3 separate regions of the Homo sapiens genome follow, and all the other regions are linked to region 2. The links are contacts of gene promoters, found by promoter capture Hi-C in human tissues and cell types (Jung and others, 2019). All regions are on one chromosome and are shown on one strand. Each heading gives the region's core, a stretch centred on a gene start or on the middle of the fragment in contact. The rest is flanking DNA. Distances are from core to core; before and after follow the strand shown. Region 1 overlaps NPEPL1 (aminopeptidase like 1). Region 2 holds the start of APCDD1L (APC down-regulated 1 like). Region 3 overlaps STX16 (syntaxin 16).

Region 1 (3,276 bases), core at 708-3,207, 180 kb after region 2:
GTGGCCTCATCCTCTTCTGTAGCAGGGACTGGGACTGTGTACTGTGAGTCTCTGCTGAGCTTGACTCCCTTGGACGTCTCTGAATTCTCAGAGTCTTGCACGATGCCTGGCACATGTGGACAGAATGAGTGGTCCTCCTCTCATGGTAAGGGACACCCTTCCCCAGTGCAGCATGGCTGTGTGTTGGTGGAGGGCACCCGCAGCCCTGCCCTCCCTCCCACAGGAGCGCTCTTGCGTCAGAGCCCCGAGCTCGCCGTGGTCTGGGGTCTTCCAGGTGACACCTGGCCTCCTTGGAGGCAAGTCACACAGCATTGACGCACTTCTCAGACAGTCCTTGTCGAGTCCCCACATGCCCTCACAGACAGAGAACCCGCTGACAGGCGGCAGGGACGGCTCAGGCACATTCATATCAGAGCTGTCAAGGTCCAGGTTTCTACCTTTGAGGCTTTGGGGTTTAATTACCTCGGCAGGGCGGGGGAGGTGGCCAGGCTGCAGTATCGACCCGGCGCCTGCTGCCCTGACATTATGAGACTAGAGGCAGGGATGATAAACTTGCTGCTGTCCTGCACCCCCGCAAAACAGCGCTGCTCTTCTCTTAATATTGTCTTTCTGGTGAGCAAGGGAGGCCGTGCAAGCAGCCAGCTGTCTGAAGCTTCTGTGCCTGGGGATGCACAGTGGGGAACAGGGTGGGGAAGGGGTGCCCGCAGATTCAGCTGAGAGAGAGTGAAGCTCCCAGGGCAGATGTGAGACACACATGAGAAGGCAAAGAATGGCCCAAGCCAGGGCTGAAGGACACATTTTTGGGACCCACGTGATGTGTGCTTTGGTGCATGTGCCCCTCTCTGCCCTGCCTTCGAGTGTGGGCTCTGAAGCCCTGCCAGGCCAGCAGGGCCCATGTTTTCAGTTCCTGGGTGGACACGTCAGTTCCATGAGGCGAGACCTCCCTCTGTGTCCTTCCCCTCCGTGCCCAGAACCGTGCTGTGTCAAGTGACAGCACTAGGGCAGCCAGACCCCCATCTGTCTTGCAGGGTTTATGAGGGACTTGCGTGGGACTCATGAGGAAAGCAACGGCCCAGAGGGAAGGCGTCTGGGAGGGCCAGCAGGTTCAAGCACTCAGGATGTAGAGTGCTTCTGCTTGGTGGGGAGGATCTGGAAAAGCTACTGGTAGATACGGCCTATGAGAAGTGCCTCGAAGGATGACTGGGATCTTGGTGGGAGGGAAAGGACTGTGGGATCTGCAGAGGTGAGGCGTGGGAAGCTCAGGGCATACTCAGGGGCTGGCATGAGGGCCACCTACCTTCAGTTGTAGCTGGAATCAGGGGAGAAACAGGACACAGGGCTTGGAAAAGATCCAGATACAGAAGGGCAGGACCCCAGGCTGGGGACTCCTGTATATTTGTGGAGGCGCAGGGTGGTGGCTGTGCTGAAGGTTCTTTCTACAGGTGGCCGGTGGCCCTGGGTTGCTGGGGGTGGGGCAGGCAGCGAGAGCCATGGTCCCCCTCTCCCCTCTCTTTGCTGCCCTGTCAGTAGCCCTGTGGGTGATGTTTGCCTCTGCTGCCTTTTGTTCCTGGGGGATGGACAAGGGGAGAACATCTGCCTCCCACCTGGTCCCCAGTGATGGCCTTTTTCTCCCTAGTGCTTAGCGAATGCCACAGACGGCGTGCGGCTAGCAGCCCGCATCGTGGACACACCCTGCAATGAGATGAACACCGACACCTTCCTCGAGGTTTGTGGCGTCATCAGGCCGGGGGTGGGACCAGGCTGGGGTGGGTGTCATAGACTCCCAGGAGAGCCAGAGGAAACCTGGGGCTGTCCACACCCTGACGTGGCCAGGGAACCTCAGGGCTGCCCTCGGCGGAGCGCTGCTGTCTGCCGGGCTCCAGGAAGCCTCAGGAAAGGGTGTGTGGGGAGGACAGAGCCTCCTCTTCAAGGCCCCTTGGCAGGACCACAGCCAGAGCTACAGGAAATGAGAGTGTGTGGAGGGTGAGCCCCCTCTTCTGGGTTTCATCACACGCGAAGCTGGCTCCCAAGCCCGGCTCCCCGACGCGGCACAGGCAGCGGTTCATCCCTGGCCCCAGCCTCGGCCTCTCCTGTTTCCAGCCATCTTCATGTGTTGTTGTGCTGTTGTTTTTTCCATGAACATGTCCAGGAGATTAACAAAGTTGGAAAGGAGCTGGGGATCATCCCAACCATCATCCGGGATGAGGAACTGAAGACGAGAGGATTTGGAGGTGGGTGGGGGCTGCATCCCTGCAGCTCTTGGCCTCGGGCAGTGGCCAGGGGCACTTGGGTGGCAGGGGGTCGGCGGGCCACATGGCACATTGTCCCAAACTTCATCCTGCTTGTGACCTGAAAGGAATCAGCCTGTGTCCAAGCCCAGTGCCGGACCCTGGGAAGCAGCCGTCCCTGGGGGAGAAGGGGAGGCAATCCAGATTCTGATTTGGATTCTGGAAGCTGCTAGATCCAAGTCCTTCCCTGCCTGCAGCCTCTCCAGCGTCCTCGCGTGCTGCACACCCTTACTCCTGGGACTGGCTCAGCAGGGCCTTTCTGTTCCTTGAATACACAAGTTCCCATCACGGCAGGCAGGGCCTGTGTGCGGATGGCTCTCCCTATCTGGAATACTTTCCCCCAAGATATATTTTTGGTGGAGGCCATCTCAACCAATGCCCCCTCCTCAGAGAGGCCTTCCCCAAGTCCCCAGACCCACCTTTCCCCACTGCCCAGGAACCAGAGGGGCAGATAAGTATGACTCAGCTGCCCCGTGGTGCTTGTAGACTGGCAAGAGGAAGGCGGCTGTCTGTGTTATGTGTGGCTACAAAACAAATCACTCGGAAGATAGCAGCTGAATGCAGCAACACTTATCCCCTCCCCGTGCTGTGGGTTGGGGATCTTCCCCTGGTGCAGCGTCTCTGCCTGCTGTTGTCAGGTTGTTGGCTGGGGCTGCAGTCATCTGAGGGCTTGCCTGGGGCTGGCGATGTGCTTCCGGGCAGGCTCACAACAGGCTGCTGGCAGGTCTCAGGGCCTCACAGGCCATTAGCTGGAGGCAGCAGGTCCTTGCTGTTTGAGCCACCCTCCGAGCAAGGTCTCTGAGCGAGAGATAGGGATAAAGAGCGAGCAAACAAGATGGAAACTCCCATCTTTTTCTGTGACCTAATCCCAGGAGTGATATCTCATCACTTCTACCTTTTTCTTTTGGTTAGAGGTGAGACATCAGGACCTGCTCACATGAGGGGGAGGGACTGCACAAGGACATGAATACCCAGACGTGGGGGCCAC
Region 2 (3,106 bases), core at 45-2,544:
CCAGGGGTTCCTGAAGCCCCTTGGTCCCCTTTGTCAGGCCTGCTGGGCACAACTCGAGCCTGGGGTCACTGCGCGCTCCCTAGCTTCTCCCCGAGTCCTGCTGCAGGAAGAAGCCCCGACCCCGCACAGGTCAGGATTCCGTGGGCAAAAACAACCCCAGTAACCTTGGTCTGAATAGCCGGGCTTGTCCCGCACCATGGGGGTCTCAGTGGGCCTGGGATCCTCCTGCATCTTCTTGGAGGCCCCGGTCCCACTGGGCCCGGCACAAAGGGCAGCTCTGGGTACCTACAGGCCAGGCCCCGACTGGCGCAGAGAGTGCAGCGGCTCTCATATTGCGAGGTGACGCGACTCCCTCCCGCAGGCCCCAGGAAGCTCCTGGAGGCGCGCAGGTGCCGGCCAGGTGAGACTGGAGAAAGGCGCGCAGGGCGCAGCATAGCAGCCGCGTGGGCCGACCCAGGGCCGTAGTCCCCAAGGGCCCTTAGGGGACATTAGACGGCGAGCTCCCTCCCTTCCGAGCTCAGCCAGTTTGCCGGGTGGGGGAGGGTGGCACCTACCTCCCAAAAGCACCAGGACGCAAGCGTAGGGGAGCATGGCTGCGGGCATCCCGTCGGGGCTGGCAGGACCGCCCGCCGGGCGCTGCCACGGTGCGCAAGGGGAGGCGCGGGCGCAGGGCTCTCGGACGGCTGCGGGCGCCGGCGGCCAGGCTGGAGTCCTGCGAAGAAGTTGCGAGGGTCCTGCGCCCCCCTCGGCGCTCACACGCGCTCAGCCTTCCCGGCTGTTGATAGTTGTAAGCGGAGCTGCGCACTCATAGGTCCAACTTGCCAGAAGAGGTGGAGACAGCCCCCGGCGAGGCGCGCACACCCGCGCAGCGCGCACAGCCCCCTGGTGCAGCTCCTGCCATTCAGACCCCCAGCCCTCCCCCAGATGTCCGTCCCCTGGCCGTCGCCTTCCCCAAAGTCTTCGCAGTGGGCAAGGAGGCCTCCCCCAAGCTCTGGTCCCGGCCAAGGCAGAGCGATGCGCTCCTTGCGTCAAAGCGCACCCCTAGCCAGGCCGTTCCCTGGAAGGGCAAGCGGGGCGGGGAGTTCCTCTAAGCCCCGCCAGTCCTGGGACCCCTGAAGTTTCTATTCAGGTCTTCCAGCTACTCCTGGAAAAGTCGCGTCAACTTGGATCCCAGCAAACCCAGAAGCGCAGTGAAAGTGGCCAACCCGGTCGCCTAGAAGCCAGCCCCGGCCTCTGTCTGTAAATGAGGCCGTCACCCGCTCCCCACCACACCCAAACGCATCTAGGCAAAGTGTGGACCCGACCAGGCGGGTTTTCCTCCTTCTCGCAACTCCTCCTCCTGCCCCCCTCCCTCCCAAATCTCATCTGAGTGAGTCAGCTGAGGGTGGCAGCTCAGAAGCGAGGCAGCCGTGAGGCGGAGGACAGGCTGGGGGATCCCAAAGGGTGCGCTCCAGCCCCCAACCCAGGCACTGGGACTCTGGTGGCACCCTGGGTGGCAGGCAAGCCTTGAAATCAAGTGCACGAGCCTTGGAAAGGAGGACCGGGAGAGTTATGGCATTTATGAATGAAGAAGAGAAAGAGAATCACTCGGATGGGAAAAGTTAACTGGATTGTTCCCACCTGCATGGATCACCGGGTAACTGCAGTGGGACCGAGGGGGCGAGGCTGCGGGCTGGGGATGTGCGGGTTTCCTTGTGTTGCCACGAACCCAGAGAGGGAGAGGAAGAAGATGGAAAGAAAAAGGAAAAAGGGAAAGAAAGTAAGAGGGGAGAGAGGGGAAAACTGAGGATGAAGAGAGACAGAGAAGAGAGACCTGAGAGAGGGAGAGAAAGAAAGAGACAGAAAGAGAAATGAAAGTGAGGAAAGGGGAAACAGGCAGAGAAAGAGAGAGAAAGGGGAGGAAAGAGAAAGGGAAAAGAAAGGAGGGAGTGAAATCAACAGAAAAAAGAGAACCAGGAAGGAGGAGGGAGGGGGAGAGAGAAGAGAGAAGAGAGAGAAGAGAGAACAAGAGAGAAGAGAGAAGAAGAGAGAAGACAGAGATGCGGTCTCCCTGGGGAAAGGTTTGGAGAACTGGGCCAGGCCTGTTTCCCGGGACTCACGAGTGAGCAGTCCACCTGCCCCTCTGAAGCATTTTATAGACTCATTTGTCCCACTTTTGTGGGCTGATCATCCCACAGGGGAACAGGGGACACCACCTCACCTTTTGATTTCTTACCAGAAACTTGGGCGAGGCTTCCAGGAGCCACAAGAGCCCTTCAATCCACCCAGGGACCCCCGATGTGGGCCCACCAGCCATCCTTAGCTTTCCTCCTCTCCAGAGGCAACAGGGAATAGGAAAAAGTCCAGAGCAAGGCCACACCATGATCTTAACGCAAATGGAAATGTGAGGAAAACGATCAATTTGCTTCCTGAAAATGACATTTTTTTTTTCTGGTTTCTATGAGACTCGAGGTGGCCTTGCTGAAACTGAAATCGGTATGAGCTTTCCCTGGCAGACAATGGCCATTGTCACATATTAAATTCTCATGAAAGGGATAACTTTGTGGGCAAGAGGAGAGTTGTGCAGGGTGATTATTTATACTTGCATAATTGTGATTATTTGTGGCAATTATGGGTCTTTCAATGTACAAAATTTACAATTATGGGTAGTTTAAAAACTACATGCTAAGGCCGGGTGCCGTGGCACACACCTGTAATCCCAGCTCTTTGGGAGAGCCAGACGGGTGGGTCACCTGAGGTCAGGAGTTTAAGAGCAGCCTGGCCAACATGGTGAAACCCCGGCTCTACTAAAAATACAAAAATTAGCTGGGCGTGGTGGCGGGCGTCAGTAATCCTAGCTACTCCAGAGGCTGAGGCAGGAGAATCACTTGAACCTGGGAGGCGGAGGTTGCAGTGAGCTGAGATCATGCCATTGCACTCCAGCCTGTGTGACAAGAGTGAAACTCCATCTCAAAAAAAAAAAAAAAAAAGTTAAAACTACATGCTATTCTGGCCATAATCATTTGAGACTTCAGTCTCTGGGCTTTCCGGATGTGGGTATTTCAAAGTCCCAGGCGGCTGATGGGGGTTCACGCATTAGTGGCATTTTGTGGGGAGAATGGGTGTT
Region 3 (3,199 bases), core at 20-2,519, 160 kb after region 2:
GGCGACCCGTGCTGCAGGGGCACTTGCCACGGCCTGCAGGAGGAAAAGCCGGGAGAAGCAGGCCCAGCTGCACCCGGAAGCATGAGCTTTCACTTCCCTGTCAGGCTTTGTCTTAGTAGTAGGTTTCCAACAAATCCATTTCCACGTCCAGGGTAAATAAGCAGCACCAGGATCATGGGGCTCTTCCACTCCTGGTGATTGAATTCCGTGGGATTGATTGGAGGGATTACAATCATGTAGCCTGTAGCAGAGACCTCAGTCACTGTGCAGAGAGATCTGGAAGCCTCATTCTGGAAACGAGTGGGACTTGATTTGGGATTTTGGGGAAAATGACGGCCTTTTTTCCCTCCTCTTTTTGTAGGCAGAACAGTATCAAAAGAAGAATCGGAAGATGCTTGTGATTTTAATATTATTTGTCATCATCATTGTGCTCATTGTTGTCCTCGTTGGCGTGAAGTCTCGATAAGTGGCATTGGGTTTTCGTGTGTGCCGCGCGTGTGGATCTCCCGGGTGTGAGGGGCTTGGCCTGCGCCCCGCCAGCTGCCCGCAGAGGTGCAGCCTCGAGGAATCTGAGGGCGTCGGGGCAGCGAACCTTTGCATCCACGGACTCCTCCTTCCCTAGTCCTGCTCAAGCGGTCCGGGGAATGGGTTTTTGTTTTTCCTTCATTGTTGAGAATTTAAGGACCTTTGATACTGCTGCACAATAGAGATTGAGTTCTGGGATCAGTTATAATATATATTTTTTTTAGAAAGAGAAAATGAGCTGAGAGTTTACAGGCACTGCAGAAGCTGTTCAGTATTATATGTGTATATGCTATTTTTTTAGCAGCCATGTCTGAGCAGAATGTTAACATAATTTTTGGAAAAATTTTCTTTAAACCATCTGGTTTTTAAGAAATTTGGTACCAAAAATTGATGAGTAGAGGCAAAAATGCCCCTTCATCTTTCTCTATATATTTTCCAGTTGAAAACAAACTAAGAAGTCCTTTAAGAATTTATAATCCGTTCCCCATTAACTTAATTTAGCTTTTCCATCACTGTTAATGATCAGAGTAACAAAGTGTGAAAAATAAGAAACCATCATTGATGTTAATTAACACATTTAGATGGGCCAGTTAAAACAGCTTCATAAGTTTTAAATTAATTGTAAATGGAATATTCCTCATTTAAAATTTTTGCACTGCATTTTCTACTGTAAACCAAAAGAGGTTACTAAGCAAAACCACCTAAATTTAAGTTGGTGATTTAAATGAATCTCACATTAAAAGAAAGCTTGACAGTGTTATGAAAGCCACCAGACTCAGCCAGTGTGTCCCCATGGGTATCCCCAGCCATCCTTGCTCAATCCATTACTTATATACTAACTACATAATGACCTGTTCAAACCAGACTCTATTTAATGAACTGTGAATTTACACAGAGGCCATTTTAAATGGGTCACCCCATTTAGGATTAGTGGATCTCAAATTATTAACCAAACATCACTCCATTTCAAAGTAAAATATTCCACCAGCGATTTGATTTATTGGCTCTTCCATTGCCACTGAGCAATGCCCAGGAAGCAGGCACATTGCCAAGGACTGGGGGCATCTTGACTAGGAAGCTCCTCGTTTGTGTGAGCGTGGGTCAGACCGCCAAAGTAGGACTTCATCGTTTACCTACCTATTATCAATATGGTGCTTGAATATATTCCTATAACTGTAGAACAGTGTGGAAAGTGATGGTAACTTTGAAGTTGTTCATGTTTTATTGGCTTTGTTTTAATTGACACTAGTAGAGTTTTAATGGTCTTTGTGTAAATTTTAATGGCTTTTCCATTGTTTTTGCTTCTCTTAAAAAGTTTAAGAAGAATATGACCTCATTAAATGTGCTGTTTTATTTGGACCAGTCACACAAAATGTCTCTCTAGAGTTGACTTTAAAGTTGTTTACAGAAATTTAAACTCAATTCCAGAGATTGAAGTTGTCCAAACAGCTCATGGGCTTAGTGTCCAAACCCCTGCCCAGCCTTCCCTTTCCAAGTTGGTGCCACCTCCAGGTAGCCATTGGTGGTTTTCCTATTACTGATGTGGCTGTGGAATGATAAGGTCCTAGAGGGGCCCTGGCATTTCAGGAAGCGGACCTGGTATTCCCTGACAAACATTGCTTAGGAAAGAGGGCCGGAGAATAAGAAGCCAGCACCTCATCAGTCAGCCCTGCAATGTGAGACTTCCGTAGCTGTTGAGAGTCACTGCAGGTGTTCTTTCATCCCATCTGATTTTAACCCATGGTTGAGACGTTCCAAGTTAGATCTGCTGCTCTTAGGTGTGGGGCTGTCCACATTAGGGAACTTGCCTCAAAAACAGTCCACAGTGGCAATACCGGACTTCTGTTCAAGCTTTTTAAAGTGCTGAGCCTTACAAACCCCTGAAGGAAAGTGACCCTTTAAGAGAGGATCATCTTTTTTTATATTTATTTTCACCAAATAGGGTGATGAGGGTTGGTTTTTGTTCCCTCAACCCATTTGGGTAAAATAACGGATCTGATTAGAAACTGTTTTAAGGAGGGGCTGGGCTCGGTGGCTCACGCCTGTAATCCCAGACTTTGAGAGGCCAAGGCGGTCACGAGGTCAGGAGTTCGAGACCAGCCTAGCCAACATGGTGAAACCCCGTCTCTACAAAAAATACAAAAATTAGCCGGGTGGGACACGCCTGTAATCCCAGCTACTCAAGAGGCTGAGGCAGGAGAATAGCTTGAACCCGGGAGGCAGAGGTTGCAGTGAGCCGAGATCACACCACTGCACTCCAGCCTGGGTGACAGAGCGAGGCTCCGTCTCAAAAAAAAAAAAAAAAAATTGTTTTAGCGCTGGGTTTCCCAAGGTGGGAGAGACAGACCCAGCCTGGAGCTGGCCCCTGGCCTGTGTGCTGACTTCTTGGGGTCCTCAAACCACTGTATTTTTCTGTTGAGCCTGTACTTGGGGAGAGATCAGTAGCATTTGAGGAAGTAAGAGAAAAGAATCATGGTACCTCAGGGTTTCTTTCCCTTTACTCGCTGGCAGCCATTGTCTGTGGGCACCTCATGTTTTTCCACACTCTACTGGGCCGTGGAGGTAACGATCACCCAGGCCAGTCTCCTCTGCCTGGGATGCGCCCTCTGAGAGGAGGCCTAGCAGGGCAGGCTCCCTCTGGGCATCCCTGGATGCAGCCTCTGGACACATGCCT

What was found. The method cuts DNA at HindIII sites, captures the fragments that hold promoters and counts their contacts. A contact is called where the count stands out against the background at its distance.
Region 1: a fragment that was not itself captured here is called in contact with the fragment with the promoter of APCDD1L in region 2 in 1 of the 25 tissues and cell types used here (IMR-90 fibroblasts).
Region 3: a contact is called between a fragment that was not itself captured here and the fragment with the promoter of APCDD1L in region 2, in 3 of the 25 tissues and cell types used here (H1 embryonic stem cells, IMR-90 fibroblasts and bladder).

What each region holds. Positions count from the first base shown.
Region 1 is chr20:58,697,048-58,700,323 of GRCh38, forward strand. NPEPL1 (aminopeptidase like 1) reads left to right here. Exons shown (of 12, transcript NM_024663.4): 4 at 1,637-1,726; 5 at 2,150-2,231. STX16-NPEPL1 (STX16-NPEPL1 readthrough (NMD candidate)) reads left to right here. Exons shown (of 23, transcript NR_037945.1): 14 at 1,637-1,726; 15 at 2,150-2,231. Among named protein-coding and RNA genes, the nearest start is that of NPEPL1, 5.9 kb to the left of the region's middle. The HindIII fragment of the contact is 5,636 bases long and covers 1-3,276 here.
Region 2 is chr20:58,514,105-58,517,210 of GRCh38, forward strand. It overlaps APCDD1L (APC down-regulated 1 like), which reads right to left and starts at 1,295. Exons shown (of 4, transcript NM_153360.3): 1 at 555-1,295. The coding sequence starts at 603. APCDD1L-DT (APCDD1L divergent transcript) reads left to right here and starts at 1,275. Exons shown (of 7, transcript NR_034147.1): 1 at 1,275-1,636. RefSeq lists an enhancer at 1-896. The HindIII fragment of the contact is 21,415 bases long and covers 1-3,106 here.
Region 3 is chr20:58,675,826-58,679,024 of GRCh38, forward strand. STX16 (syntaxin 16) reads left to right here. Exons shown (of 9, transcript NM_001001433.3): 9 at 362-3,199. The coding sequence ends at 466. All of the region lies in intron 8 of STX16-NPEPL1 (STX16-NPEPL1 readthrough (NMD candidate)), which reads left to right. Among named protein-coding and RNA genes, the nearest start is that of NPEPL1, 15 kb to the right of the region's middle. RefSeq lists enhancers at 2-527, 528-1,052. The HindIII fragment of the contact is 6,742 bases long and covers 1-3,199 here.